Regions from separate parts of the Homo sapiens genome. Here all the other regions are linked to region 1. Evidence: promoter capture Hi-C in 16 types of primary human blood cells and fetal thymus (Javierre and others, 2016). All regions are on one chromosome and are shown on one strand. The core of a region is centred on a gene start or on the middle of the fragment in contact, and the rest is flanking DNA. Distances in the headings are between cores, read along the strand shown. Region 1 holds the start of AP3M1 (adaptor related protein complex 3 subunit mu 1). Region 2 overlaps SAMD8 (sterile alpha motif domain containing 8). Region 3 overlaps DUSP29 (dual specificity phosphatase 29). Region 4 overlaps KAT6B (lysine acetyltransferase 6B). Region 5 overlaps KAT6B (lysine acetyltransferase 6B). Region 6 overlaps KAT6B (lysine acetyltransferase 6B). Region 7 overlaps KAT6B (lysine acetyltransferase 6B).

What was found. Contacts are between HindIII fragments. The CHiCAGO score rates a contact against its expected background, and 5 or more counts as called.
Region 2: a fragment that was not itself captured here is called in contact with the fragment with the promoter of AP3M1 in region 1 in 4 of 17 cell types (total CD8 T cells, naive CD8 T cells, naive CD4 T cells and 1 more); the score reaches 5.6 in total CD8 T cells.
Region 3: a contact is called between a fragment that was not itself captured here and the fragment with the promoter of AP3M1 in region 1, in 3 of 17 cell types (fetal thymus, M0 macrophages and M1 macrophages). The highest score is 5.7, in fetal thymus.
Region 4: a contact is called between a fragment that was not itself captured here and the fragment with the promoter of AP3M1 in region 1, in 1 of 17 cell types (fetal thymus). The highest score is 5.9, in fetal thymus.
Region 5: a contact is called between a fragment that was not itself captured here and the fragment with the promoter of AP3M1 in region 1, in 2 of 17 cell types (fetal thymus and total B cells). The highest score is 5.7, in fetal thymus.
Region 6: a fragment that was not itself captured here is called in contact with the fragment with the promoter of AP3M1 in region 1 in 1 of 17 cell types (fetal thymus); the score reaches 7.5 in fetal thymus.
Region 7: a fragment that was not itself captured here is called in contact with the fragment with the promoter of AP3M1 in region 1 in 1 of 17 cell types (endothelial precursors); the score reaches 5.1 in endothelial precursors.

What each region holds. Positions count from the first base shown.
Region 1 is chr10:74,148,700-74,152,766 of GRCh38, forward strand. AP3M1 (adaptor related protein complex 3 subunit mu 1) reads right to left here and starts at 2,129. Exons shown (of 9, transcript NM_012095.6): 1 at 2,056-2,129. ADK (adenosine kinase) reads left to right here and starts at 2,522. Exons shown (of 11, transcript NM_006721.4): 1 at 2,522-2,644. The coding sequence starts at 2,580. RefSeq lists enhancers at 2,053-2,282, 2,693-2,872. The HindIII fragment of the contact is 5,595 bases long and covers 1,818-4,067 here.
Region 2 is chr10:75,139,917-75,143,983 of GRCh38, forward strand. The region is part of intron 1 of SAMD8 (sterile alpha motif domain containing 8); the gene reads left to right. Among named protein-coding and RNA genes, the nearest start is that of SAMD8, 30 kb to the left of the region's middle. RefSeq lists an enhancer at 1,771-2,270. The HindIII fragment of the contact is 3,092 bases long and covers 765-3,856 here.
Region 3 is chr10:75,049,671-75,053,737 of GRCh38, forward strand. The region is part of intron 2 of DUSP29 (dual specificity phosphatase 29); the gene reads right to left. Among named protein-coding and RNA genes, the nearest start is that of DUSP29, 22 kb to the right of the region's middle. The HindIII fragment of the contact is 5,055 bases long and covers 1-4,067 here.
Region 4 is chr10:75,031,289-75,035,355 of GRCh38, forward strand. It overlaps KAT6B (lysine acetyltransferase 6B), which reads left to right. Exons shown (of 18, transcript NM_012330.4): 18 at 1-1,336. Among named protein-coding and RNA genes, the nearest start is that of SNORD172, 12 kb to the left of the region's middle. RefSeq lists an enhancer at 1,957-2,006. The HindIII fragment of the contact is 2,306 bases long and covers 748-3,053 here.
Region 5 is chr10:74,998,662-75,002,728 of GRCh38, forward strand. The region is part of intron 13 of KAT6B (lysine acetyltransferase 6B); the gene reads left to right. Among named protein-coding and RNA genes, the nearest start is that of SNORD172, 21 kb to the right of the region's middle. The HindIII fragment of the contact is 1,444 bases long and covers 1,558-3,001 here.
Region 6 is chr10:74,979,403-74,983,469 of GRCh38, forward strand. It overlaps KAT6B (lysine acetyltransferase 6B), which reads left to right. Exons shown (of 18, transcript NM_012330.4): 11 at 2,385-2,526. Among named protein-coding and RNA genes, the nearest start is that of SNORD172, 40 kb to the right of the region's middle. RefSeq lists an enhancer at 3,152-3,201. The HindIII fragment of the contact is 634 bases long and covers 1,759-2,392 here.
Region 7 is chr10:74,920,772-74,924,838 of GRCh38, forward strand. All of the region lies in intron 3 of KAT6B (lysine acetyltransferase 6B), which reads left to right. Among named protein-coding and RNA genes, the nearest start is that of KAT6B, 96 kb to the left of the region's middle. The HindIII fragment of the contact is 2,579 bases long and covers 1,129-3,707 here.

The sequences.
Region 1 (4,067 bases), core at 879-3,378:
CCACATGCCACAAAGCCTGGCTAATGTTTAAATTTTTTGTAGAGATGGAGTCTCGCTATGTTGCCCAGGCTGATTTCCAGCTCCTGGCCTCAAGTGATTTTCCCGCCTCACCCACCCAAAGTGCTAGGATTACAGGCGTGAGCCACCGCACTCCATCTGCCCATAGTATATTGGTTTGTTTTTTTTTTTTTTGAGACGGAGTCTTACTCTATTGCCAGGCTGGAGTGCAGTGGCGCAATCTCAGCTTACCACAACCTCCGCTTCCTGGGTTCAAGCGATTCTCCTGCCTCAACCTCCCGAGTAGCTGGGACTACAGGCACGTGCCACCACGCCCAGATAATTTTTATATTTTTAGTAGTGACGGGGTTTCTCCATATTTGCCAGGATGGTCTCGATCTCTTGACCTCGTGATCCACCCACCTCAGCCTCTCAAAGTGCTGGGATTACAGGCATGAGCCCTACCGTGCCTGGCCGTATATTATATTAAATGGTTAGAAATAAAAATCATAAGATTAAGTAAGAAAATATAATCTTGTTGCAAAGAGAGCTTTCCTAAAGATACGTAAGGTTTTTTTTTTTTTTTTTTTTTTTTTTTTTTTTTTTTTTTCGAGGCAGAGTCTCGCTCTGTCGCTCAGGGTGGAGTGCAGTGGTGAGGTCTCAGCTTACTGCAACTTCCGCCTCCCGGGTTCAAGGGATTCTCCTGCCTCAGCCTACCAAGTAGCTGGGACTACAGGCGTGTGCCACCACACCTGGCTAATTTTTGTATTTTTAGTAGAGACAGGGTTTCACTATGTTGGCCAGGTTGGTCTCGAACTCCTGACTTTGTGATCCGCCCGCTTCAGCCTGCCAAAGTGCTGAGATTACAGGCGTGAGCCACCGCGCCTGGCCAAGATTCGTAAATTAAGATAATTCTTCATTAACCTCATTCACTTCACTTCTCCTATAGTGTCAATTGAAAGTGTCCCTCTGTCTTTCCCAAATTAATCCTTTCACTTGTAACTTGATCCCATTCCTTTCCTTCTCTTCTGGGAGACAAGACTTTTTCTTGAATCTTCAAATAGTTGCTTGCTTCCTGCCCCCAAATAGATATCTTGTATTCTTTAAAACAAACCCCAAACTTTCCCCCACCTTGCCACTCTCAATAATCTTGCTTCATGCCCCAAATGATGAAGGATTGGTCTACACTTGCAGTCTTTCCTCAGTTACTATTAAAGCATCTCTCTCAAACAGCTCAATGACTTTCTAATTATAAAATCCAACGACCTATTCTGATTTCAGCTTCCTCCTCTGACCATTGCAGCATTTTATGTCATTGATAACTTTCTCCTAAACAAAAATACTTCTTACCCTTTTATATGAAACTTCATCTGTTTTGGGTCTCACCTTGAAAGTCTTTCGGGCTTAATTCTCATAATTTTTTTTAAAGTCTTTCTACAATCTCCATGTAAACCACTGTTTCAAATTCGATAAAACTCAAACTCCATAAAATACCTCCTCCTGTCACTGGCACCATCTTCTTAATCACACATAAGGCTGTAAGTTTCAGGTTCAAACAAATCTACCAAATACAAACAGCCACATCGCCCGTCACTCTTCCACACTCACTGCCACCTGCTCAGCTTAGAACCCCGTTACCTCTCTCCTGAAGAACTGCAACACCCTTCTCACTGCATTCCTCACCCCAGGCTCTTCCAGGCACCACCCGCTAACAGGACGTCTGCTCAGGTCCGTTTGGGGTTTTGTCCTCCAAAGCAGAAACCTGGGACTGAGATTCCTGCCGTCTGTACTCCAGCTCACTATAGAGGGGGAACCCAGTAAGCTTGACCTCCGGGGCTCAGGCGCCTGAGAACACTGGGCTGCAGGTGGACCGCTCCCTTCTGGCCTTGCTGGCGAGAAAGCCCGGAAGGCCGGGAGTGGGGGGGAAGCGAGGCCCGGGCCAACAGCACCAAAGACGCTCCTAGAGCCCAGATCGGAGTCGGGGGCCCCAGCTATTCAGCCTACTCCCGGGTTTTGGAGCTGTCCCCAGTCCACAGATTTCCCGCCCCTCACACTCACCCCAACACCTGTGCCAGTCAGTGATTCGGCGCCGGATCCTCTCCTACCGAAGCTGGAGAAGCCGAGAAGGCCGCGAGGACCCGCAGCTGGAGTGCCCAGGAAATTGCCTGATTAACAGCTTCAAAGACACCGACTCTGTCTACCGTATTAGAAATTTTAAATATGCAGGAAGACCGTAAATGAGAGGAAAGACGTCTCTTGAGGCTTAGTATCTAAATCTTCTACATAATCCAGGGCCTAGAAAAATGGTGGGTTTCTCTCCATCTAGATTCAGGCGGTCATCTGCTGCCTAACGCAGTCTGGGGTCCCTCATGGTAGGGGAGGCGGGGTCAGGAATGGGCGGGGCATTCGCTGTTGGTGCCGACGGATAGAGCCAATGATTGTGGATGACAGCGGCACAGAATGGGCGGAGTCTGGAGGGGCGGGATTTGGAGAAGAGAAAGCGGTGATGCGAAGAGGGGGCGGGACCAGAGAGTGGATGGCAGAGGTGGGCTGTAGAGCCAAAGTGGGGTGGGAGCGCGAAGATGGCAGCTGCTGAGGAGGAGCCGAAGCCCAAAAAGCTGAAGGTGGAGGCGCCGCAAGCGCTGAGGTGAGCGCTGCCGGACTTGGGGAGGAGGGTGACGGCGCTGCAAGCAAGCCAGGGCCCACGTGGGGTTGCACGGCCCCGACGCTGGGTGGTGTCTCTCACTGCCAGCTTGGGGCCAACACGCAGGACCTCCCCCAGCTGCCCGCTTGGCCGCGACCCCTTGCCAGACGTTCTCTCCGTTTGGCTGAGTCCCCGCCTGTCTGGTGCAGCTCCGGCTCCAGCAGCCCTTCGCCAGTCGTGGCCCGCAGGGGGACCGAGCTGGCTGACCGCGCCACCTGCGAGCAAGCCCAGGCTGGGCTGGTGCGACCCCGGAGGGTCGGACCGGAGCAGCGTCTGTAGGCGGCCGCCTTCTCTTCCCGGGGGATGGCGGGAAAGAGGCTCGGCAACTGCTGTACACTGGGGCAAAGTCAGAATTCTTGGGGATTTTTCAGAGTGTTGCGGAAGGGCACGTTGACCTTCCTTTTCGTGCACATTCTGAAAGCCCGTACCTTTGAGGACCCTCTACCAGGGACCCAGACCCCTCCGATGCTTTGCAGGGGCAGCATTTGGATGAATGGATAGGAAAGGTTGATTTCTCTTTTTTATTTACACTTTTTGGCAGCAACGGGGACAGTGCTGCCCCTAACACCTGCCTCACATGTGATTGATGTTGCAACTTTTACTTATGAAGAGTCATTTGTTAAAATATCCCTTCCTAATAAGTATAAAGTGAAGCAGGCAGTCTTTGATGATTTGGAAATGTTCGCTGAAAGGCAGCGATTTTTTTTTCCATCTTAAAATAGACATATCAAACTGATTTAAAACTATTAGGACACTCCTGATTAAACAGGACATATCCCATTTCTTCCAGTATCACTCTTCTTCACCTCCAAAGGAAGGAATCACTCACAATTGAAAAGAAAAGGACACTTAGGGGCCTGGTGGTGTGTTCATGCTGCTTTGAATGGAGGGTGAACAAATCCTTGCCAGTTCCTTTAATGTATTCCTACTACCCTCAAAGGGTTAGTGTGCCTACCTTATACCAAGAACATAAACTTTAAAATAAAAACCCTCAGGATATTCTATTTTTATTTTAAATATTCCAACTATATGCAGAATAAAAAGCAACGGCTTTTGAATCAGACCTACCTGAGTTCAAGGCATGTGCTTTCCCTACTCTGCCCTTTATTAGAGTATTTCCTTATAAGGCACCTCCTTCGCCAAACTGGAAGACAGATGCAACTTTTCCCTACCATCCTACTGAACATATAACCCTTAGATTTCCTTAGATTTTTCCTTAATAAAAATTATTATATATAATGCTGATCCATTTTCACTGTGTTTTCCTATTTATTATCTTGTTGGACAGTTCTGTGATCAAAGGAAGGCAAGAATTATGCCTATTTTACAATTGAAGATATTGAAGCCCAAATAAAACAATTAGTAC
Region 2 (4,067 bases), core at 1,061-3,560, 990 kb after region 1:
TTTCTAGTCTTAGGTTTTATGTTAGGTCTATGATCCATTTTCAGTTAATTCTTATATGTGGTAGAAGTATGAATTGAGGTTTTTACATATGGGTATCCATTTGTTCCAGCATCATTTAATGAAAAGACTGTGTTTTCTCCACTGAATTGCCTTTGCACATTTGTAGAAAATCAGATATCTATATATGTATAGGTTTGTTTCTGGACTCTATATTCTGTTTCCTTGATTTATGTTAACACCACTTTGTCTTGATTTGAGTACTGAGATAGGCAGAAGTCCCCGGGTTCAAGCAATTCTCCTGCCTTAGCCTCCTGATTAGCTGGGACTACAGGCAAGCACCACCAAGCCGGGCTAATTTTTGTGTTTTTAGTAGAGACAGGGTTTTGCCATATTGGCCAGGCTGGTCTCGAACTCCTAACCCCAAGTGATCCACCCGCCTCTGCCTCCCAAAGTACTGGGATTACAGGCTTGAGCCACCCCGCCCTGTCAAGATACAGAATTCTAAAATGACTCCTAATGACCTATGCTTTTGTATAATGGGAGGGACCTGTAATCCCACCTAATCATGGGATATCACTCCCATGGTGACTAAGAAAGGGAGATTATCCTCAGTGGACCTGATCTAATCAGACAAACCCTTAAAAGGGACTGGGCTTTTCCTGGAGAAATAATCCAAGTACAAGGGAAGGGAATTCAACACAGAAGAAGCTGCTGATTTTTGGGAAAAGAGGAGGCCATGCAGTAAAGAATTCGAGTGGTCGGTAAGCTTACGGTAATTTGTTACAAAGCAATAGAAAACAAATACAGGTAGTTGTATAATAAGTGTTTAAATCAGCTGTTTATGAAATGTATCAATATCTACAAAATTAAAGGCCCGTTGGGATTTTGATTGGAATTGGGTTGAATGTGCAGATAAGTTTGGGGAAAATTGTCCTCTTAACAGTATTGATTCTTCTGACCTACTCATTTCTCATTTTTAGGTGTTCGTCTTAGCAGTGTTTTTTGTTGTTTTCAGCATATAGGTCTTGCCCATGTTTTGTCAGATTTATCCCTGAGTATTTAATATTTTTTATGCTATTATAAATGGTATTTTATACATTTTAATTTTTGATTGTTTGTTGCTAGTATATGGAAATACAATTGATGGCTGGGTGTGATAGCTCACGCCTGTAATCCCACACTTTGGGAGGCTGAGGCAGGTGAATCTCCTGAGCTCAGGAGTTCGAGATGGGTCTGGGCAACATAGCAAAACCCTGTTTCTACCAAAAATATTAAAAATTAGCCAAGTGTGCCAAGTGTGGTGCGCATGCACCTGTGGTCCCAGCTACTTGGAAGGCTGAAGTGGGAGAATGGCTTGAGCCTGGGAGGTGGAGGTTGCAGTGAGCCGAGATCGTGCCACTGCACTCCAACCTGGGTGACAGAGTGACACCCTGTCTCAAAAAAAAAAAAAAAGAAAGGAAGACAATTGATTTTTGTTTGTCGATACTATATGTGGCAATCTTGCTAAACTGACTTATTCTAGTAACTGTTTTTGGTATAGTCTATTGAATTTTCAACATAAATAATCAAGTTGTCAGCAAATAGAGTTTTATTTCTTCCTTTTTAATCTGTATGCCTTTTACTTTTTTTTTTTTTTTTTCCTCGAGATGGAGTCTCACTCTGTCTCCCAGGCTGGAGTTCAGTGGTGCGATCTCCGCTCACTGCAAGCTCCGTCTCCCGGGTTCACGCCATTCTCCTGCCTCAGCCTCCCGAGTAGCTGGGACTACAGGTGCCTGCCACCATGCCCGGCTAATTTTTTGTATTTTTATTAGAGACAGGGTTTCACCGTGTTAGCCAGGATGGTCTCGATCTCCTGACCTCATGATCCACCTGCCTCAGCCTCCCAAAGTGCTGGGATTACAGGCGTGAGCCACCACGCCTGGCCTGCCTTTTGCTTCTTTTTTTTATCTTATTACACTGACCAGAACTTCTGATGTTTTGTAGAAGTGGTGAGAGTGACGGTCTTGCCTTGCATCTTTTTTTTTTCCTTACACTTGCTTTTTAAAAAAATTTTATTTTTATTTTTGTTTTTGAGAAAGAGTCTCACTCTGTTGCCCAGGTGGCTCACTGCAGCCTCCACCTTCTGGGTTCAAGCAATTCTCCTGCCTCAGCCTTCTGAGTACCTGGGATTGCAGGCACCCACCACCATGCCTGGCTAATTTTTGTATTTTTAGTAGAGATGGGGTTTCACCATGTTAGCCAGGCTGGTCTTAAACTCCTGACCTGAGGTGATCCGCCTGTCTCAGCTTCCCAAAGTGCTGGGATTACAGGCATGAGCCAACATGCCCAGCCTTTGTTATTGATTTCTGCCCTCATCATTATTATTTCCTTCTGCTTTGGGTTTAATTTTCTCTTTAGCTTCTTGGTGGTATTATTTTAGCTGATATTAGTGGATTTCCATTTCTCCCAACCTTTGTGCTATTGTTAACATATGTTTTACATATGTTATAAATCCCACAGTACATTGCTTTTTGTTTAAACAGTAAATTATCTTTTTTTTGAGACGAAGTCTTGTTCTGCCACCAGGCTGGAGTGCAGTGGCACGATCTTGGCTCACTGCAACCTCCGCTTCCCAGGTTCAAGCGATTCTTCTGCCTCAGCCTCCTGAGTAGCTGGGACTATAGGCGCGTGCCACCACGCCCAGCTAATTTTTGTATTTTTAGTAGAGACGGGGTTTCACCATGTTGGCCAGGATGGTCTCGATCTCTTGACCATGTGATCCGCCCGCCTCGGCCTCCCAAAGTGCTGGGATTACAGGCATGAGCCACCACCCGGCCTAAATTATCTTTTAAAGAAACTTAAGGCCGGGTGCAGTGCCTCCCATCACTTTGGGAGGCCGAGGCAGGCAGATTACCTGAGGTCAGGAGTCTTGAAAAACCAAACAAAACATCAATACAAATGAATATCCTTCTATCCTGAAGGACAAATGAATGAGGACAGCATCCTCTTCCTTTTCCCACAATGTAATAATTCTTGATTTGAGTGTTTATCATGGCCTTATAAGTGCATTGTTGGCTATTAAAAACTTTCTGTGCTTCCTTACAACAAGCAAAGTTAAAAGCTGGTACTGCGGCTGGGCGCGGTGGCTCACGCCTGTAATCCCAGCACTTTGGGAGGCCGAGGCGGGTGGATCACAAGGTCAGGAGATCAAGACCAGCCTGGCCAACATGGTGAAATCTCGTCTTTACTAAAAATACAAAAATTAGCCTGGTGCAGTGGCACGGGCCCATAATCCCAGCTACTGGGGAGGCTGAGGCAGGAGAATCTCTTGAACCCAGAGGCAGAGGTTGCAGTGAGCCTAGGTCATGCCACTGCACTCCAGGCTGGGTGATAGAGTGAGACTCTGTCTCATAAATAAATAAACTAACTAACTTAAATAGTAAGAAAAAATGTATATATTTATGCATGTGGCTACCATTTTGGTGTTCATTTCTTTGTGTAGATTCATATTTTGGTATGGTAACATTTTCTTTCTGCTTGAAGGACCTTAAATTTTTGTAGTGCATGTCTGCTGGTGATGAAATCAGCTTTTGTGTGTCTGAACAAGTATTTGCCTTTGCTTGTGAATGATATTTCACTGGGCCTACGGTTTTAGGTTGTTGTTTTTTTTTTCTTTCAGTACTTTATGTTGTTTCACTGTATTCTAGCTTGGCTTGAGCCCAGTAAGAAATCTCTTATCATTCTTACCTTTGTTCCTAATGTGTCTGTTTTCTCTTTTTGCTTTTAAGATTTTCTCATTGTCACTGTTTTTAAGTAATTTGATTTTGGTATGCCTTGGTATAGCTTTCTTCTTGTTTCTTATTTTTGGAGTTTGTTAAGCTTCTTGGATACACATGTTTATGGTTTTCACCAAATTTGGAAAATTTTTGGCCATTGTTACTTCAAATATTTTTTCTGTTCTCTCTTGTCTTTTGGAAGCTGTTTGATGTTGTTCCACCTCTCACTGATGTTCTTTCTTTGGTGTGTTTGTGTGTGTGGTAAAATATATACAACCAAATTTATAATTTAAACTTTTTTTTTTTTTTTTT
Region 3 (4,067 bases), core at 613-3,112, 900 kb after region 1:
AAGAAGCAGGTTAATTTCATTCGTGCTCGGTGCCTTAAGGCGGAATTAGTTCCTCCTTTTCGGGGAGAAGGAGCTGTCTCAGCTGACTGACTTGCCTTCACTTCACTTCCCAGGCTCTCAACGCCAGGCCAGCTGTGGCGATGCCTCTGGCTTCTGAGGCTGTGGGTCTGGTCAGAAGCAGAAAAGCAGAAAGGACAAGACAGAGGTTCCCTGGAAAGCCAGCTTGGGCTGGGTGGGTGGGGCAGGCTGCAGGCCTTGGCAGGAATCTGAGCCCAAATGCCGGACCTTGGAGGCAACTGTAGTTTACACAAAAATAAGGAGCTCCTGAGGGCCCGCACCATTCCATGAGCAGCAGAAGTTTAACCTCACCCTGGCACTGGCTCTCCGACACCCGCATTGTGGAGAGGGAAGAGAGATTTCTCAATTATCCCGTTTCAGCCAAGCCTTATCACTGGAGGCTGCCCTGCCTAGGAATTTGCAATCACTTTGATGGTAGCCAGGATATTTCCCCTCCTGCTGACTATAGGGAAAAAAAGGACTGAAAAAAGATTTTGCTAAGCAAATGAAAGATGTGAACGAGATTAAAGTGAGAATATTTAAATTACAGAAACTTAGTGCTTTCGAGCGTACTCAAGCATTTTTGAAGCACCCATTTAGGGACTGCTGATTGATAAGAGGTGATGAATTATTCTTATCTCATCATTGACGCCAGTCCCTGGCTCTCTGGAGGACAACACTTGGTTAACCTAATTTGAATCTAATTTGAATGACTTAAAAGTAATAAAACAAGTGTGTGCTTGAAACTAATAAAGCCTAATTCATTTAATAGGCCATTTCTTAAATAATTTTATTTTAGAGCTGGAAGGGAACCTTCGAAATCATCCTTTATTTTACAAATAAAGAAACTGAGTCCCAGAACAATAAAATGCTTTGCCAAAGGCCACCCATAGTTGGTGGCCACCCACACACAGTGGGGACTGGGACGCTGTGCCGAGTCATGCCTGAGCCCTCCGCTCCACGCTGAGCCTGCAGTTCCACTTGTGGCAGATTCAGACCCCTATCGAGTTAGAGGAATGAGTGGGGAGTGGGTGGCTACACCTTGTGTGAAGAAGACTTCCCCCGAACCCCAGGAATATCTGCAAGGTGGCCAGCCAGGCCCCACCCCTTCGACCCCTCTGCTGAGCCGGCAGAGTGAGCACCCTCCACGTTGCCCTCCTGTTTGTGGCCTTTTCTCATCAGGCTGCACTGGCAGGGCCACCTTTCCCCTTCCCTGGGCTGCTGAGCAGTGAGGACTTGGAATTACCAGGCAGCCCACTTGGTGAATCCCCTTGAGCTAACCTGGGATGGAGAAAATGCTTTAGCGATTTTGAAACCCGCAGGCCCAAGGAACTTTGATATGGCTGCCTTCTTAGGCCTTAGGTCACCTCCCTGGAAGGCCTAGGAGAGCAGGCCCTCCTTCCAACACTCTGCCCTGGGTCATGATAGAATTCTCATGGGAGAAATCTGACCCAGGGTTGTTTTCTCTCCCAAGGCTTCCCCTAGCATGGGGGACCCTGGGTGGCAAGGCACAGTGACTGTGCTTTACCTTCCTCATACACTGTGAATCGAATTTCCAGAACCTGCCTGATTTGTCATAGTTCAAACTTGATGAATGTACTGGGCACCGTGAGACATGTTTTGCTTGCATTAACGCATAGAATCCACATAGGCGAAGAAGCTGAAAGTCACAAAGCCTGAGTGACTTGCCCAAGGCCACACAGAAACCAGTGTTCAGTCCAGACACTGTGGACCCAGAGCAGATGCTTGGCCGCTCCACCTATCTCCACAAAAAGGAGCAAGGAAAAGAGTGAGCTTCATCTTAGAGGTAAGTATGCCCCGCTGCAGGCCCCACAGTCACTGGCCTGGGCTCCAAGGATAGATAGTAGCTTTGGCCATCCCAGGACATCCATCCTTACTCCTGGGTCCTGACCTCCTTCACTTCCAGAGCCTTGGTACTGGGCTTTCAAAAATCTTAGGTGCTTTTAGGGAAAGGAAAAACCTAACCGAAATGTAAATATCAAATTAAAACTGAGGCTTTGTGCATGAGGAACCAGCTTGGAGCTTTTGGCTGCTTTGGGCAACCCCTGCAAAGAGACCAAGAAACACAGGCAGCCTTGCCTGTTCACAGCCCAGCTTATAACCTTTGCATGGCTGCATTGGCGGTAGAGTTAATTGCTCTTGCAATAAGCGTCTGTGAGTCTCATTAACCTTGTTAAGTGAGTGTCACAGAAATCAGGGACAAGCACACACCATGCTGACTTGAGGCTCCCTCCCTCAGCTGGGGGTGTAAAGTCTCACACACCTGTGTGTGCTTGTATTGGGGCTCGATTAGGCACAGTTGGATTGAATTAAAAGGGCAGTGACATTTTCCATTTTCTTGGTTGAAAGAAGCAAGTTCAAGGTCAAACATCAAGGAGGCAAGCATATTTTATTGTCTAGCACTCGATTAACTAGAACACGTCAGTTCTGCTCAGACACTCAATGGTTTTCTGAATAAAGTCCCTTGGCCGTCATTCACCCTTCCATGAGCTGGCCCTGACCTACCTTTCCAGATTTCTTTTTTGTTAACTATAATATTTGCATTTGTCTACTTTTTTTTTTTTTTTTTTTTTTCTTGAGACGGAGTTTCGCTTTGTCACCAGGCTGGAGTGCAGTGGCGCGATCTCGGCTCACTGCAACCTCCGCCTCCCGGGTTCACGCCATTCTCCTACCTCGGCCTCCCGAGTAGCTGGGATTACAGGAGCCCGCCACCATGCCAGGCTAATTTTTTTGTATTTTTAGTGGAGACAGCATTTCACCGTGTTAGCCAGGATGGTCTCAATCTCCTGACCTCGTAATCCGCCTGCCTCGGCCTCCCAAAGTGCTGGGATTACAGGCGTGAGCCAACGCGCCCGGCCATCCCCGGCTAATTTTTGTATTTTTAGTAGAGGCGGGGTTTTGCCATGTTGGCCAGGCTGGTCTCGAACTTGTGACTTCAAGCGAGCCACCTGCCTCGGCCTCCCAAAGTGTTGAGATTACAGGCGTGAGCCACCACGCCTGGCCAACTATTCTTCAAGTTGAGGAAAAGGTAAAATAACCTGCCCAAAGCCAATGCACCTGACCAGGAGGCTGTGCCAGATGGCATTATTGTTAGAACGTTTGCAGCCCCTCTGGCTGCGCTAGTTATACTTTCCTGCCCCACTGACATGAGGCTTTGGCGTGGACTTGCTTTTGCCAGTGAAATGTGGGCAAAAATGGCATGTGTCACTTCTAAATCAGCTTATGGTTTGCTAGGTCTCTCTTTTCTCTCTGCTGCAAGGCTGGCAAGATCTCAAATCAGGGCTGCTCTATCACCCTGGGTCCTAGAGTAAAGTGGCCGGGAGCGCAGCAGAGCTGGCCCACCATGGACTGCATTGTGAGTGAGAAAGAATCATTGCTGTGGCCGGCCACCAAGATGTTGGGGTGAGCTATTAGACTAGCACAGCTAATCGAAACTGACCACACAGCAGTAGAATTTGGCTTAATCTTGGACCTTCTGAAAGTGTACCACATTCATCCCCTATATTCCAGATGAATCTCCCTGCTTTTCTCACCTCTGTAGCTATTCCCATCCTGCTTCCTCTGCCTGGAATTTCTTTGAAATCCTACCCATCTTCAAAAGTCGAGCCTAGATCCATGTCTTCTGTGATCTTTCTCAGATCCATAATAGCACCAAGCACTTACTGAGCATTTACTACTTGCCAGATACTACTCTAGCATTTGTTTGATTTCATTTAATCTTCACCCAGTGAGATAAGTCCCATTATTGTTGCCACATAAGGTGAAGAGAGGTAAAATAATTTGTCCAAGGTCACACAACTGGTAATTGGCAGAGCCAAGACTCAAACCCCGTGCTCCTTCCCCTCTAGTACTCACCGCTGTTTCTGTTCCCTGTTACATTTCTACCCATCTCCTCCCTCTCCCCTCCTCAACTCTGAAACAGCTTCTTTACCTGACTGACCATGTTTTTTTTTTTTTGATCTGGATTTGAGTATAAATTTTACCCCTTT
Region 4 (4,067 bases), core at 651-3,150, 880 kb after region 1:
TGCAAAGGAAGGCCTCTCTTTGGACTACAATTTGGAGGCAGCCACTTGTTGTGCCTGCTTCTGTTAAACAATGTGGATATCAAGCCCCCCCAAATTATCTGTTTTAATATTGAACCTAGAGCTTTTTTTTTCCCTTCCCTGTCCACTCCATGTAAATGCCTTTAGCATTTCAGTTATTGTATATTTTGTTTAAGGTGACACTTCAGCATGCCGCTAATGTCTTTGTTAGTGACAGTGCATTTTGTAGTACTGTACAAGTGTTGTGCTAACAGTAAGCCATTTCTTAAGTTTTTTGCCTTGATTAGGGTGCCCTAATTTGAGGGTTTTAAAAAAAACTATATTTTTGTTAATTATAAAACTGTAAAGAGCTATAAAAGCTATTCCCATTTGGTTAGTCAAAAGGGTTTTATTGCTAAATGTTTGGTGTAAAGTTGAGACCCTTTTCCATTTTGGTGACAGATTTCTTTGGGGAAAAAAGGCAGCTTTCTGTTTTATAAATGCAGACTTCTGTTTATTGAATGAAGCATATCTCAGTGTTTATCTGTCAGGTTTTGAAACATTTCATATATGTCCAAATACTTGGCAGGATTTAAAAAAAAATAGTGAATTTGGTGTAAAGTTGCTATTTTATGGAAATGCCTCTAACTTTACATTTTCATTCCATCTGTAGATTTTTCTATCTTTATAAAATATTGGAGTTATTTTTTAAGGAAAAATAGAAAAGTAGCTTGTGAATAGCTCAAACTAAGCTTACAAATCGCATGTAAAAAAGCAAAAAAGTTATTTGTGTCTGTTTATATTGCTTCCTTTTTTGTAGCCTTTGTACCTGTACAGGGTGACAGTAAGGGCCAAGCAGGAGAGGCGTAATCCTTGTATAAAATAGGATCCAGCGACACTCTTGTATTTATCTGTTCTCTTTTTAGTCAGTCACTTCAAAAAAACAAAAAACAAACAAAAAAAAGCTGTACATTTTAACATAAAATAAATTATGATGAGCCATTTTTAGCCTCTTGTGTCCTGTCATATTATGATTGATAGAGAATGACCAATGGAACTGTATCATGTGTCACGCCTCAGAACACATACACATTTTGGGAAAATAAATTATTTAGTGTAAATTGGAGTTATGGGATTTTCTGATTTGTTTTGACTTTGGGGGAGGGGTTGGCAATAAATAAGAGTAATATCTAATAAAACCATCACATATACCAAATACCTATTTAATAAATTAATTTATAATGGATTTTAATGCTTTTCATGAAAGTTTATTTTATGCGAGTGCATACCTTCTGTATGCCAATCATTGTCTTTAAAATAAAGTGAAATTGTTTTTTTCTTTTGGACTTTGATCTTCATTTGCAAAGAGATCCCGCACAAATATCCAGCTGCCTCACTCGCACAGTCTGTAGAAACATCCCTCCAAGCCTCGCACCAGGGTAGCAAACTTCCTTTTTATAAAGATTCATACCAAAAAAAGCACCCAATTTGGGATTGTATGTTTGAAAAATCATTTTCTTTTTAAAAAGTGTGAACGTTTTGCTCTGTTGTGAATGATTAATTGTATGTTTTCTTTAGAGTCTAAAGTTTAGACCCCCTGCCAAAAGTGAATATTCACAAGTATAGCGTTCAGAGAAAGTTCTGAGTGTTGCTTGAATTTGGTTATTTGAGCAACAAGTCTAGAAATGAATGCTTGACCTAGCACCCGTGTGAAACTAGCCCGTTAAGCTCTCCAGGTGTCTGAACACGTGTGCTCGCAACTCCTCTGTTAAGCAGGTCACTACCCTGTGGAGGAAAAAAGTTGCTTTTGCACTGTTGATTCAACACACACACACAAAAATTAGATGTTTTACAAAGCATAGACATAAGCCTTAAAGTGGACCCAAAATCGTGCAAGGGCAGGATAGAGCGTACACACCAGAATAAAAGGCCTTGTGCAGACAGAGGGTGCCCAGTGGAGTTCTGCCTTGTACTCTCACCCTTATCGTTATTTTCTTTCACAGTTACAAAGTGTATTGGGTTTAGTGTCACAATTTTATCTTTTAGTCCCTTCCTTCCTCAACTGCAAAGTCAATGGGGGTAATATATGTAACAGCTGAGGGAGGGCTTTCAAGAAGACACGTCTGAAGGGCCGTCAGCACAAAGGGAAAAGATCCATTTAAGCTGCTGTGCTAATAGGAAAAGAAACCTATCAGCCATCCTCAGAGTAGGAAGTGGTGGTCTATGCCTGCACAAATCGAACACTGCGTCCATTCAGGAGTGGCCAAGGACTGGGCAGCCCAGTGGGCCACACATCGGGCAAGAGGCTGCCCGAGCCCTGGAGGTGGGGTTGGGGCCTGGAAGCAATCTGATCGGGAAGCAGAGCCCCGAACGGGCTCCGACCTGTCACATATTTTGTCTCTTTCCTCTTGGGTTAAGATTCTCTGGGGGCTGAGATTCCCCTCTGTGTTCCCTTTGGCCATGACCTGCTAATCACACCTTGTGGTTTGTGCGATGTCTGAGTTCCCATACCCTGCCAGCCTAACAGCCCTCTAAAGGAGCTTGTGGAAGAGTCCCAATCATTGCCCCAGACCTGCCAAACCCTAATCTTAGAACAGTCCCAGGGACACCTCGGTTGCCCAGGCTCCTTAAGGACTGCAGCATAGCTAGGACTAGGAGCTTCCGTGCTGGCCCCAGTCCCAACATTCCTTGATGGAACAGAAAGGCTTAGCATAGGAAGGAAACTGCTGATCTGAGATGGCCTCAGAACACCCTGCCCTCCACCTCACCCACTCTCACTAGAGAAATCAGTTCACATCTGAATGTGACGCCAAGGATTTGGCGAAACAGGAACTTGGATTCATCAAAGCTGAATTCATTCGATTGAGATTCATTAACAGGCCACATCATTTAAACCCTAACTGTGTTCTATTATTTGTAAGAGTCGTACCAAGTGGTGGTCAGTTGCCAGCCTCACGTTTTAATAGTTGCAAGTGGTGCCTACGCCAGGTGGGAGGGCATCCACCTTCCTCACCAACATTCTATTTTAGAAGTAATGACTCACAATATCGTCACAAAGCTTTCACAAACTCCTCCCACACACCCACCCTGTGCAGGAAATGGGGCCATTCTTTCCAATGTACAGATCAGGATGTTGAGGCTCAGATTAAGCTACATTAATTACCCAAACTCACCCAGCTAAAATGTGTGAGCTGAAACAAACCCAGGTCTTTCCAAATCCCAGCTCTTTTTTTCTAGGACACTGTATTCTGAAAGGCCCTAATTTGTCACCTCTCTGATTTAAAGGCTTGGCTAATGAATACATGTTGCTGTAAAAACTGTTAAGTGCTATATAAATACAGATCCCTTTGTGGCTGCGAGCAAGCCTTGGTCTACAATCAATCTTCGATACTCAAAGTACACGTACTGTTACATTATGAAGCAGCACCTTCCATTTCTCTGTACCCAGGTTTCCATCGTTCCTTCTACCTTCTCCATCCCCTTTCCTGGACCTTCCTCCTCCACCCAGGCTTACCTATAAACATTGATGTTCTGCAACACTCAGGCCGGGAGTGTTCTCTCTGTTTTCTCTCATCATCTCATCTAGTATGATGACTTCAAATTCCACCTCTCTGCAGGTGACACCCGGAATTACATCCCCAGTTGTGAATATTCCTCTGAGCTTTAGATGCCACGTCAAATGACCTGGGACACCTTTTGTACATCTGCATGACAACCGAACTGGTGATTTCCGACCGCTCCTCCGTTCCTGCTCTGGTCCATCCCATCTCAGTGTTAAAGCACTGCCGAGAAACCTCGATCAGTTAGCCCTCATTTCCCTCCCCATCTCGGGAGGTCCCGTCCGTTTTCTGGGTTAATTCCAAAATAATCTTGAATACTAATCCCCTGGTGCTGTCAGTCCAGCCCATTTCCTTTCCTGTCAACAGCCTCCTAACTGCTCTTGCCTCGCTTCTTAACTCCCTACAACCTGTTCTCCATACTTCAGCCAAAGGATCTTTCCAGAGTGATCTTGAAACAGATCATACCATTCCCCGGCTTAAAACCCTTCAGTGAATCTTCTGTGTACCTGG
Region 5 (4,067 bases), core at 1,030-3,529, 850 kb after region 1:
ATGCCTGTAATCTTTGGGAGACTGAGGCAGGAGGATCACATGAGCCCAGGAGTTCGAGGCCAGCCTGGGCAACATAGTAAGACCCCATCTCTACAAAAATAAATAAATGAAATTAGCTGGGCCTGGTAGCTTGTGACTGTAATTCCAGTTACTCAGGAGGCTGAGTCCTCCATTAAGGATGGCTTGATCCCAGGAGGTCAAGGCTTCAGTGAACTATGATTGCACCACTGCACTCCAACCTGGGCAATAGAACCAGACCCTGTTTCTTAAAAAAAATTATCTGGGAATTTGTAATGCTTGTGATAAGCAAGTGGCTTTCAAAATTATATATGTAATATGTTCTCAATTATGTAAAAAATATGCAAAGCAAAACAAATACATTTCTAGATGACCTCTGGAATTAGAATTACAGATACTTTTTATTTTCTTATTTATACTTTTTGCTGTAACTAAAAAGAAAAGAGGCCAGAGTCAATGGAGGCCTGACAGTGAGGATGCATGGAAAAGAGGCAGGTCCTGTTCGTTCCGTAGCAGGAGCATGCCTGGTGCAGAGTGGTGCTCAGAAAATACTGGTATTTATTGAATGCATAACTGAGCTTGGAGAGATAGTGAGCGCAGCTTTATGTAGCTTTCACTGTGCGTTTGGATGTCTACGTGCACTTTGCACAGACTCCAGAGCTCAGCAGGGGGTCTGCATTAGAGGGAGCAGCTGGGAGTCGTGGACATGCGGTGGTAGCTGAAACCATGGATGTGGGTGAGGGCAACCAGGGGGAAGTGTATAGGGAAACAGGGCTGAGGGTGGAGTGCTTGGAGTGTTAACATCTAAGGGACTAATAAAGAATGAGGAGCTCGCCAAGGAAATTTGCAAAGGGCCCAGAAGTCAGAAGAAAATTGGGAGATAATGGTGTTAGGAAAACCAGAAGAGGTCAGTATTTCAACAGTAACAGTCACAATAATCATCATAGCTGCCACTTCTAGAGCCCTTGCTATGTGTCAGGCACTGTTACCGGAATTACACACATTTACTCACTTAGTCCTCACGGAGACCCTATGGGGTAGGTTACTGTGACCATCTCTCTTCTGGGACGAGACACTAAGAGACTTGTCTAAGATCATCCCCCAGAGATTCAGTGCCCCAGAGAGAAAGTCATAAGAAGTATTCTTTGGACAACTGTATATTAAGTGCGATTAAAAGTAGATTCAAAAAGCTTTTGACTGTTTTATTCTGTTTGGTTGGGCGTAGCGTCTCACGCCTGTAATCCCAGCACTTTGGGAGTCTGAGGTAGGTGGACCACTTGAGGTCAGGAGTTCAAGACCAGCCTGGCCAACATGGTGAAACCCCATTTCTACTAAAAATACAAAAATATGGATGTGGTGGCATGTGCCTGTAGTCCCAGCTACTCAAGAGGCTGAGATAGGAGAATCACTTGAACCTGGGAAGCAGAGGTTGCAGTGAGCTGAGATCACCCCACTGCACTCCAGCCTGGGCGACAGAGCAAGACTCTGTCTTTTTTTTTTTTTCTTTTTTTAAAACAAAGCAAAACAAAACAAAACAAAAGCTTGACTGTCAAGGGCTGGGGACACAGGAACCTAGTTGTCTTTATTTTTAAGCTGGAGAGCCTGGAGCATGTGTATGTACATCAGTAGGGAAAAGAAAGAGCAGCGCTGATGGAAAAAATCGAGGGGAAAACAAAAAGCAACATCCAGGCAGGTGGTTTATTACAAAGTCTGATCTGGCATTTGATGAAATTCAACATTCTCTCCTAACTAAAATACTTAAACCTACTAACTAGAACTATAAGGGTTCTAAATCTCAGATTAACTTTTTCTTTTTTATCGGGGGCAGACGGACGTGTAACTAACGCTATAAAGGGTAAAGGACAGCTGGATCCAAGTCTACAGACTTACGTCTATAGTTTTTAGAGACCAGATAAACTTGCCATTAATATTAATTAATGGCAAGTTCGTCAGTTAAGTTAAATATCAGTTAATTGTACATTCAGGCATTTCTAAAATTAGTATGTTTGTGGAATAATCATAAAAATGTGTCAGCAGTTTCAATTTTTGGCTTTCTTTATTCAGTATTAAAATATTGGGCAGTCCTTCATGGAACAAGGCTGTAACTATAGGAAGCAGAAGTGATTGAATGAATTAGGCATTCACTTCGGGGAATTCCCTTTGCTGGCTCTTCATATGTTGAGGGTTTCACCTTAGCTTTTGTGAGGTCCGTGTGCTATTTAAAAACTGAGTCTATAATTAATCAGCGCTGCTAGAAGATGGTGCAAATGGCCCAGTTTTGTGCCTCCAGGTTATGAATTTGGCTCTTGTCTTCAGTGTGGTTTGCAGCGTCCTTCTACATGTCCCCTTTTTTAGAAATGATACTCCCCTCCACCCCTGCCCCCCACACACATATACAGCCAACCGGATTTAAGGAAAGCAGGAACTACAATAAACTTTTGAGGAAAGATGCTTTAGGGTATGATTTAGTACCTTAGTTCCTTTCTCACTTGAGTATTAATCAGTGTGGTTTTCTGCACCGTCGTTCTTTCCTCCTCTGGTTTAATGACAGAGATTTCTTCTTTAGGTGCCACAACCACCCACGTCCGTAGAGATCCCCGGGCTTGTTTCTCCTTTAGCCTCTGAATAGTTCTTGGCTGATTTCTTGAGGAAGCACCGCATTGGAAGAGAAAAGCATCTTCTCTTTGGTTTCCTGCTCCCTGCTTCTCTGCCCTTTTAAGTCCATAAAGCGAATTAGGAAGAAAGCCACATACTTCATTTCTACCCAGGGGGGTATCATGTCAGGAGGCTAATCATATCCACTCTCTCAGAGAGAAAGCTGCTTCTTCCCAGAATCTTAGATGCAAGCTACTGGTTTAAATGTTGTATTATATGATGGCTAAATACAGAAGTACGTGTCATAGTAGTTCAGGTTGCCAGCTACTACTAGTTTTCACAGTCTGCCTTCAGTGGGCTATTTTGTTTAAAAGAGCTTCCACTTACAAGCTTTTCAAAATACAATTTAAGTGAAACTTAAGAGTGTTTTTAAGTAGAGACTAAGTGGTTTCATCCTACCTGAAAATTGCCTTCTTGAAATAAATGTTTGATACCCACTGGCCTATCTCCTCTGGAAAACAGGAGTTTTCATTTAGAAGTCCAGTTGGTTGGATTCCAGTAAGCCGTTTCACCTGACTGTATTACGCCCCCTGGAACCAGGGCTGTGCAGGAGCCACCGGCTTCTCCCAGAGGGCAGGGTGAGCACAGTATCAGGGCACATGGCTTACCCTCAGGAGCTGCATCCCAGCCTCAAGGCCCTGGTGAGAAACTGTGCTCTCCAGCAAGGGTCTCTGGCCGTCTCTGCACCGTGTGGTCAGCTTAGGGCTGTGCCTCCCAAGACAGGACCTGAGGATGGGTATGGGTAGCAGAGATATTGCTCCCTTTGCTCCTGGGTGTCCAGAGCTCCAGTGCCTGTCACCTCACCTCTAGCAGCCTCAGGAGCTGTGTAAATTCTGTCATATACATGATGAGGGAGATCATGAAGCACTCACTTGAATCATAAAGTCTGTCTGGGGGAGGCTGCAGAGTAAATATTCCACTTTCCCCACTTACAGGCCCCACAAACAAGCCTCAGAAATGTGTTTGGAGGGACCATGACAGCATCTCTTAGGGACTTGTGTTATTTAGTTTTCTCTCTCTCTCTCTTTTTAGTGGCACTAACCAAAAAAAAAAAACAACAACAAACTAGGCTAAGCAAGTGCAGAGTCATTTATAAACTTGCATAGGTCTTTTATATACAGTCATTTATCATTTAAAAACTGAGATTCATTTTGAGAAATGCACCATTAGGCAACTTCATTGTCGTGTGAACATCATAGTGTATGTACTTAGACAGACCTAAGTCGAAGTCTATAGGTTACTACACACCTAGGCTATGTGGCATAGCTGATTGCTCCTAGGTGACCAACCTGGACAGCAGTTACTGTACTGGATACCGTAGGTGTTAGTGGTTGTAACATAATGGTATTTTTGTATCTAAACATATCTAAATATAGAAAAGGTACAGTAAAAAT
Region 6 (4,067 bases), core at 826-3,325, 830 kb after region 1:
TGATTCTAAAGCAGGAATTAGGGATGATTTTAGGAAATAAATTTTGGTAGTCAATGCCAAGTGCTTCCCAAACTATTGCTTTTGCCAGCACCTTTTTATGGTATTCCTTGTTCTCGGTAAATTCCTTATGCTCCTTAGTTACATGGGCATTATAAATTTTGCCATTTAGCTTCTAGATTGTGCTTTCTTTCCTTGGTTAATTGGGGAAATGTTGGTTTTGTATGAAACCAAATTAAAAAAAAAAAAAGAAATTTGCCATGGTGAATTATTGGGTAGACTTTCTTCTCCAGTTGTCTTTTATATTTTTTAATTAGGCCTGTTACTTTTATCTCTGATTTCTGGCATTTTATTTTCAAGTTTTTAATAGAAATTTAGCAAAAGAAGGAAAAATGGGAGAAAGTAAGTGGGAATGGGTAGTCTTAAGAGACCCTTCCCCAAATTTTTACTTTAGAACATTTGTGACTTTGAAGAGAAGGCCAGGCCCGGTGACTCACTCCTGTAATCCCATCACTTTGGGAGGCCAAGGTGGGTGGATCACCTGAGGTTAGGTGTGCAAGACCAGCCTGGCCAACATGGCAAAACCCCATCTCTACTAAAAATACAAAAATTAGCCAGACGTGATAGGACATGCCTGTAATCCCAGCTACTCGGGAGGCTGAGGCAGGAGAATCACTGGAACCCAGGAGGTGGAGGTTGCAGTAAGCCGAGATTGCACTACTGCACTCCAGCTCAGGTGACAGACCAAGATCCCATCTCAAAAAATAAAAAATAAAAAGGAGAAAATAATGGTATCCAAGTTTTTGTTTGTCTTGAACTCAAGATTAGCCTGTGAACGAATATATCCCAAAATGGGTACATTGAGAATAGATGTCTTCCATAAAGTATGTCAGGGTACACTTTACTAGTATCTTCAAAAATTTTTTAGTCTGCAAAGTTTTCAGTATTTATAAACTTGATTTTCTTATAGAATAGATCTTATTTTTTTTCGTTAGCATGTGAGTGTCTGGCCAATCACGTAACTGGAGAAAATGCTAAGTGTTTTCTAAAAGTTAAGTGACAAAATAAGAGTCAAGAATTTTGGTTTCTCCTTCCTTATACCATTTGGTTGTGTGTTCTTGAACAATTTTAAAAGACTATGAGCTTTAATTTGCATAGGTAATGATAAGCCATGTGCTCTGAAAGATTTGAATAAAATTTGTACATAAGTGCAAGATTTGAAAGTAGTCTCACCTGTGTCTGCCTCTCTCTTGAAAACCTTTTTCCCCATTCTTATACTCCAAAGACCTTGCAAGTGCTTCTAAACATTTTCTTATAAATACCAGCCATGTTCATTAAGATATGGAAATAAAAAATGTTCTGATTTTTAAGGTGGAGAAAAAGTCAGCAGGGAAGAGAGGTGTTTGTCTTTTACTCAAAGTAACAGTGGAATTGGTAGAAAACAAATTAGGTCTTTTGATTTTCAGCCGTGCTATTTACTGCATTTAGACCATATATAAATCTCTGATAATAACTTTAAAGTTACCTCTTCCAGAGGTGGAAATGGTAACAACTAAGTTTGAGGACTTTTCAGCCTCATATGTATGCAGATTGTTTAAAATAATAAATTCACTTCTGAGTAAGATATTATATCTATACCACTAACCATATATAATTGGAAATAAGATAGTAAATGTGAATTTTGAAAAATATGCTTGGTCCCTTGACAGGATGATATCCTTATTAAGTTGATTTTTTAGGGTGGTGGTTCCACATCTGTAAAGCTTTCTTTATATAGGATATTTTTAAGGAAACAAATTATTTGTTCACAAAGTAAAGGGAGCACATATTATGGATTATATTAAAAAATAATGTATGGTTGTTTTTACATTCTGTCTTTACTATTGGCTGGCTTTCTTTCTTTCTTTCTTCCTTCCTTCCTTCCTTCCTTCCTTCCTTCCTTTCTTCCTTTCTTTCCTTTCTTTCCTTTCTTTCCTTTCTTTCTTTATTTTTTTGACGGTGTCTCACTCTGTTGCCCAGGCTGGAGCGCAGTGGTGCAATCTCGATTCACTGCAACCTCCGCCTCATGGGCTTAAGCGATCTTCCTGCCTCAGCCTCCCAAATAGCTGGGACCACAGGCATGTGCCACCACGCCCAGCTAATTTTTGCATTTTTAGTAGTGATGAGGTTTCACCATGTTGGCCAGGCTGGTCTCAAACTCCTGATCTCAGGTGATCTGCCTGCCTTAGCCTCCCAAAGTGCTGGAATTACAGGTGTGAGCCACTGCACCCAGCCTCCAATGTTATTATACAGCCTTTTTATGATGTAGAGAAAATTGAACAATATTTAATCTTCCCCCCAACAGTATAATCTATCTGATAGATTCTATGATTTTTAAACTTTAACAGATTACCAAAGCTTTACCTGTGTGAATTCTGTCTTAAATATATGAAAAGTAAAAATATTTTGCTAAGACACTCCAAGAAGTGTGGATGGTTTCATCCTCCAGCAAATGAAATTTACCGAAGGAAAGACCTTTCAGTATTTGAGGTAAGCGCGTGTAAATAAAAAAATTCAGCTTTTTGAAATCTAGTACTCCTAATTGTTGACTATGTGCTGATTTGTGTTTAGAAGGTACAAAGTATACTTAATTTTGGCACTGAAATTCAGACTGCCCTTTAAAACATCTCCATGTTTTGGAATGTTTATCTAACCATATTAAGCAACCATTTAGACTGATGAAGAATCCCTACTTCATCACATTAACATTTTTGTCTTCCCCAAAATCCCTGTCTACACTAGATATATTCACCATGAATTTATGATCTCCTCAGCTCTTTGTAAATTCTACTTTCTTTGGCAGGAGAAATGAGCTTTGTTCAGCAGCTCCAGCCAATGTCTGGCAGGTGCTCACTCTTCCAGGGAATTGAGCAGCTGTACATATCTCCTCAATACACAACCACCTGTGTTTCCATCCACTTCTTGGCAGTGTGGATAATCCTTTTGGTGAGACCCTAGCAGATGTTGGGACTCCCTCCCATCTGGGTAGATGGCCACCCCTGAAGAACTCTGCTGTTCACAGGAACCCCTTGTGGCCATATGTCTGTCATTGTGGGTTTCTTGAAGACATTTTGTATTTCCAGAATTGATTTCGTAGCAGGCCTTTGCCTCTATATAGTTGCATTGTTTAATTATGTATCTGTTGTCAGTTTCAGGGATTCCGTTAAGCTGAGTCAGTTTCACCTTGAGGAGACCATGCCTTTCTCACAGGTTACTGTCTGTCTGCAGGGCTTTTCACGTTTCTCCTTTATGCTCTTCCCTCCACTTGCACACTTCTGTTGTCTGCTGCATTTTCTCCTCTGTGACCCATTGTGGTGTGCATTGGTGCTCATTCCTAGGTGCTTGAAACAAGCCTACCTTGTACAGCAAACGTGATGTCCTCTTTCTCTGGAATATAGTTTCACTTCTGGATTTTCTTTTTCTGAATTGTTCAGGCTGAAACTTATTATTCTGCCTTACAGTTCTCTTTATTTCTGGCCTGCAGTGTCTTGCCATCCTATTAAATAAAGGGAAGGTTGTAGGTTTCTCACATGGACCAGGCTCCTTCTCAGACAGGTCTGGGCCCACTAGTTTTTCCCCAAGACTGATCAGAGAACATGGGAAACTCCAGTTGTGTCTTATGATTTTTTTAAAGCTTTCTCTTTTTCTATCAGCTCTTTCGGTAAGCTTGGAGGAAGAAGGGTATTGTTGCTGGGAAGATTAGGTGATATATTAGTTCTTACTAAAAGCTAGGCACTTTTGACATTTCAAGCTGGTTAGTTCTTTGTTGTAGGGGCTATGCTATACAGCGTAGGATGTTTAGCAGCATCTCTGGCCTCTGCTAATTGGATGCCAGTAGCACCACCACCCCTTCCAGTTGTGCCAACCAAAAATGTCTCCAGACGTAGCCAAACATCCCCTGGGGGCGCAGAATCACCCCCAGTAAGAACCAGTGGGCTAGAAGGAAGGCTGAATGCACGTTGCCTGACCTTCCTGTTGGTATGCTATCCTGCCAGCCCCAGCCAGCTGAGGTGACAGAGCTGCTCACAGTT
Region 7 (4,067 bases), core at 1,168-3,667, 770 kb after region 1:
GCTTTTATACCCCAACAAAGAAACTTGTTATAATTTAATAGTGGCTGTGTCCATTTTTCTTTTCTTCTCTGCTGTTCCATCCCAAGGTGGGATGGCCCCAATTAGACTAACCACTGAAACCCTGGGCATAAAATGGTGCCCAGGGAGCTTTTCTTCATATTAATTTGTGTGTACTCTAAAAGGAAAGATTATTTGGCTTGCTCATAAATCCAAAATTTTGGTGATGAAAATATGTTTATAATTATTTCTTTTGAGCTTGATTTGTTGTGGATTTTTTCCTTTATTTTGGTTTAAGATCAAATGGTTTCCTAATGTGTATGGGTCACTGTAGTCTAAATTTTTTTTTTTTTTTTTTTTTTTGAGATGGAGTTTTGCCCTTGTTGCCCAGGCTGGAGTTAAATGGCGAGATCTTGCCTCACTGCAACCTCCACCTCCTGGCTTCAAGTGATTCTCCTGCCTCATCCTCCTGAGTAGCTGGGATTACAGATGCCTGCCACCACGCCCAGCTAATTTTGTATTTTTAGTAGAGACAAGATTTTATCATGTTGGCCAGGCCGGTCTGGAACTCCTGACCTCAGGTGATCCGCCTGCCTTGAACTCCCAAAGTGCTGGGATTATAGGCATGAGCCACCGTGCCTGGCCTCTAAATATTTTTAAAGTATAGATGTTTTTAAACTTGTAGCTCCTGAGTGTGAACTGTCCCTTGCTGTTTTTTGGGCATCTATCAAGGCATTTGTTCTAACCACTGAGTAAGAAGGACATCACTAAGGGGGTTGTAGCTATACCTTTCTTCTTTTTATCTTTAATTAACATGCATTGACTGCCTGGTATGTTAGAAACAGACCTGCCTATTACAGTCTCATTCCCTTCCATACTCATCCTTGCTTGTGTGGCTACCTCCCAAGCTAGGACTGCAAGACCCTTATCACTCCTGCTTACTATTGGTTTTTGTGTCCTTTTGGCAATTTTCTAGTGGCTGCTTGAACTATTGGTTGTCAGATTGACCTGATTTGTTTCACTTGTAAACAAAATGCTTAAGCCACTGTTGATTTTTGTGACAGCTCAGTTGCTTAGAGCAAGGTGTTAATGAGACATCGGTCATAGGTCCAGGCTCTGGGTTGACTGGTAAGCTTTGCTCTGGCCCATGGCCACAGACCCTGACTCCCCCTTGCCAGCTGTCTTGCACATGTAGCTATGGCTCATTATGGGGACACAGCAGGGGGTGGAGATAAGACAAGGCAAATCTGTCATCTCTGCCAGAAAAGACAACTCCTACTGATAGGTCAGTAACCTTTTCATTGGAAGAACAGCACGTTAGTATTAGCTTCTGTAGATGTGTCTAACTGAGTCTTTTTCTTAAAATAACTCATGTGATTGTATGGGTTGTCTGCAGCAAGTTTAGAATACTGCTCACATTTTAAAGCATGTTTGAATATAAGGATGGCTTTTTAGTTTGTGAAGATTATTGTCCTTAATCAGGGATTCTTAATATCATTCTCTAAAGTAGAAAAGTGAGCTTTAGAAGTCAAATTTGATAAAGCTCTAGAAAACAACTGCAAAATTGCTGTTATAAAGAAACCTGTCAAATTTAGGAAGTGCCCTCCAGGAGCCCTTCATCCCAACCAATCCTCTCCTAAAAGAAAGGAAAAAAAGAAGAAAGATGGCTAGGTAGATGGAATAGTGATCAGAAAAAAAGAACTTTTCTAGAAAAGCATACCAGTGTGCTCTTTACCAGAGCATTTTAGCAGGTAATATTTTACAAAGGACCCAGCAGATAATTGGGCAGGTTTTTTCTTTAGGAACTTAGTGTTGATGGCCTGAATTAATCTGACTAGGAATTTAGACATTTCTTCATGATATATTTTGAGTCCATAGATGATCTGATTCTAATGTGACTTCAGTTTTTAACTTACATAGCGTTAAGCAAAAGGATGTGTGTGTATGTATGTGTGTTTGTTTTACATCCTAAAGGTATTACAGGCCCCATGGTAAACTTTTTGGCTCAAGTGAATCCAGAGTTTGGTATATGTAACCTCCAGTGGTGGTTCATGAACAAACACTTCATTTCTGTAGTCATATTTTTTTTTAAAGAATAAAAGTGAGCCAGGTTTAAAACTTGTTAAGAAAATAATAGCACAGGTGATACACAGATGAAGCAAAATTGCCGTGGATGGTCTGGGAATGCCTGAGGATTGAGAAACACTGGCTGAATTATACACTGTGGCAGAAGAAATTATAGGCCCTTAGAAACAGGTAGAGGTTATTGGAAAGATTCAAGCACCTAATGTTTAGTTAGAAGGTAAGTAAGCTGGTTTCTTAAGTTCTTGTTTATTTATTGGGTGTGGGCTCAGGATAAGTTAGTTTGAAATAGATCTTAGAGAAGTAAATGCAAGACAACTTTATCAATGAGTCATGGGCAAACAATTCTATTATTAGAAGTAGTATAGAAAAGGAGTAGGAGAAGTAGAAGGGAGGAAGTCTAGTATTCATTCATTTATTTATTCATTAATTCAGCCACTATTTCTTGAGCACCTGGTGTATGTCAGGCACTGTTGTAGGCACTGGGGACACAGCAGGGAGCAAAACAGACAAGTCTCTGCCCTCATGAAATTCATTTACATCCTAATGGGAAGAGACAAATAATGTAAGTGAGTATATAGCATGTCAGCTGTGAGAAATGCTATGGAGAAAAATAAAGCAGAGTAAGGGAATTAAGGAGTGATGGGATGGGGAGGCATTGCTTTTTTAAATAGTTTGATGAGGAAAGACCTCTCTAAGAAAGTGACATTTAACTTGACTTCTGAGGGAAGTGAGGGAGCATTCCAGGCATGGAGAAGGAGTGTTCTAGATGGAGGGAACAGCAAGTGCAAAGAGCCCTTGACATGTCTGAGAAACAGATAAGAGGCCAGTGTGGCTGGCGTGGAGAGAGAGGGGAGAGTCGTCAAGTAGTAAGAGGTGAGAGCAGATGGGAGGAAGGTCTCAGCACAGGTCAGGCCTCTGGCTTTGCTGAGAGTGATGGATGCCTTTGCAGGGTTTTGAACAGAGGAGGCACATGATTTGACTTAACGTTTTAACAAGCTGTTTCCTGCTGCTGTGTTGAGAATAAGCTGTAGGCGGCACCAAGGTGGCAGCTGGGAGGGTATTGCCACAAAACAAGCAAGAGATATGATGGTTTAGGCCAGTGGTAATGGTGGAGAGTGTGAGAAGAGGACAGATTCTGGATGTATTTTGAAGTAGAGCCCGCAGAATTTGTTGATGAACTTGATGCAGAGTGTTAGAAAAAGAGAAGACTTCAAGGTTATTGGCCTGAATAACTGGAAGGATGGAGTTATCTATCACTGAGATAAACAGAGGTAACAGAAGTAAAGGGGAGAGATGGCCATGGTAGAAGGTGGATTACACCTTTAAATTTTTAAAACATATTTTTATTTAAAATAGCCCTCACTCCCTGGCCCAGTGCACACAAAGGACCTGATTTGCTTTTACCCTGAGTTTGTCACTGTAGATATCCTGGAATACTTCGTTAAAAACTATAAATAAAGTGGCCATAATACGGCTCATTTTGTTCAGATTCTAAAAAAAAATTCCTTCATAAGCAGTTGGCTTCCAAATAGCAATGCATGCTGTCAGTTTGGTGACTAATTGGGTTAGAGGTTAATAGCAAGGCAGTCCTATAAACATCAACGGGAGTGGTGTATCCAAATGAAAGCTTGCATTAGGCAACAATTCAAAGAATGAGAATGACTAAATACCATGTTACAAGCCAAGTGAATTATATTAAGAGTTTTAACTTTGAGAGAAAGGGACGTTACCCCTGAAATAACTATCTTAGTTGGATCTTCCCTACTTAATACTCATAGTTGGGTTGTAAAAATGTAAAGGTTACCATCAAAACAGCACTTCTTAACCATGAAATTGACTAACTTTGTAAAATTAGAAATTCTGTTACTTACTTCCTACTATGCTGATTGGACATTCCTTCTTTTGCCAAAAGAACAGAAAGTTGGATTTTGTGCCTTCTAGCCAAGAGAACCACACACCTCTCTCTCTGTAGACCAGCTAAATGC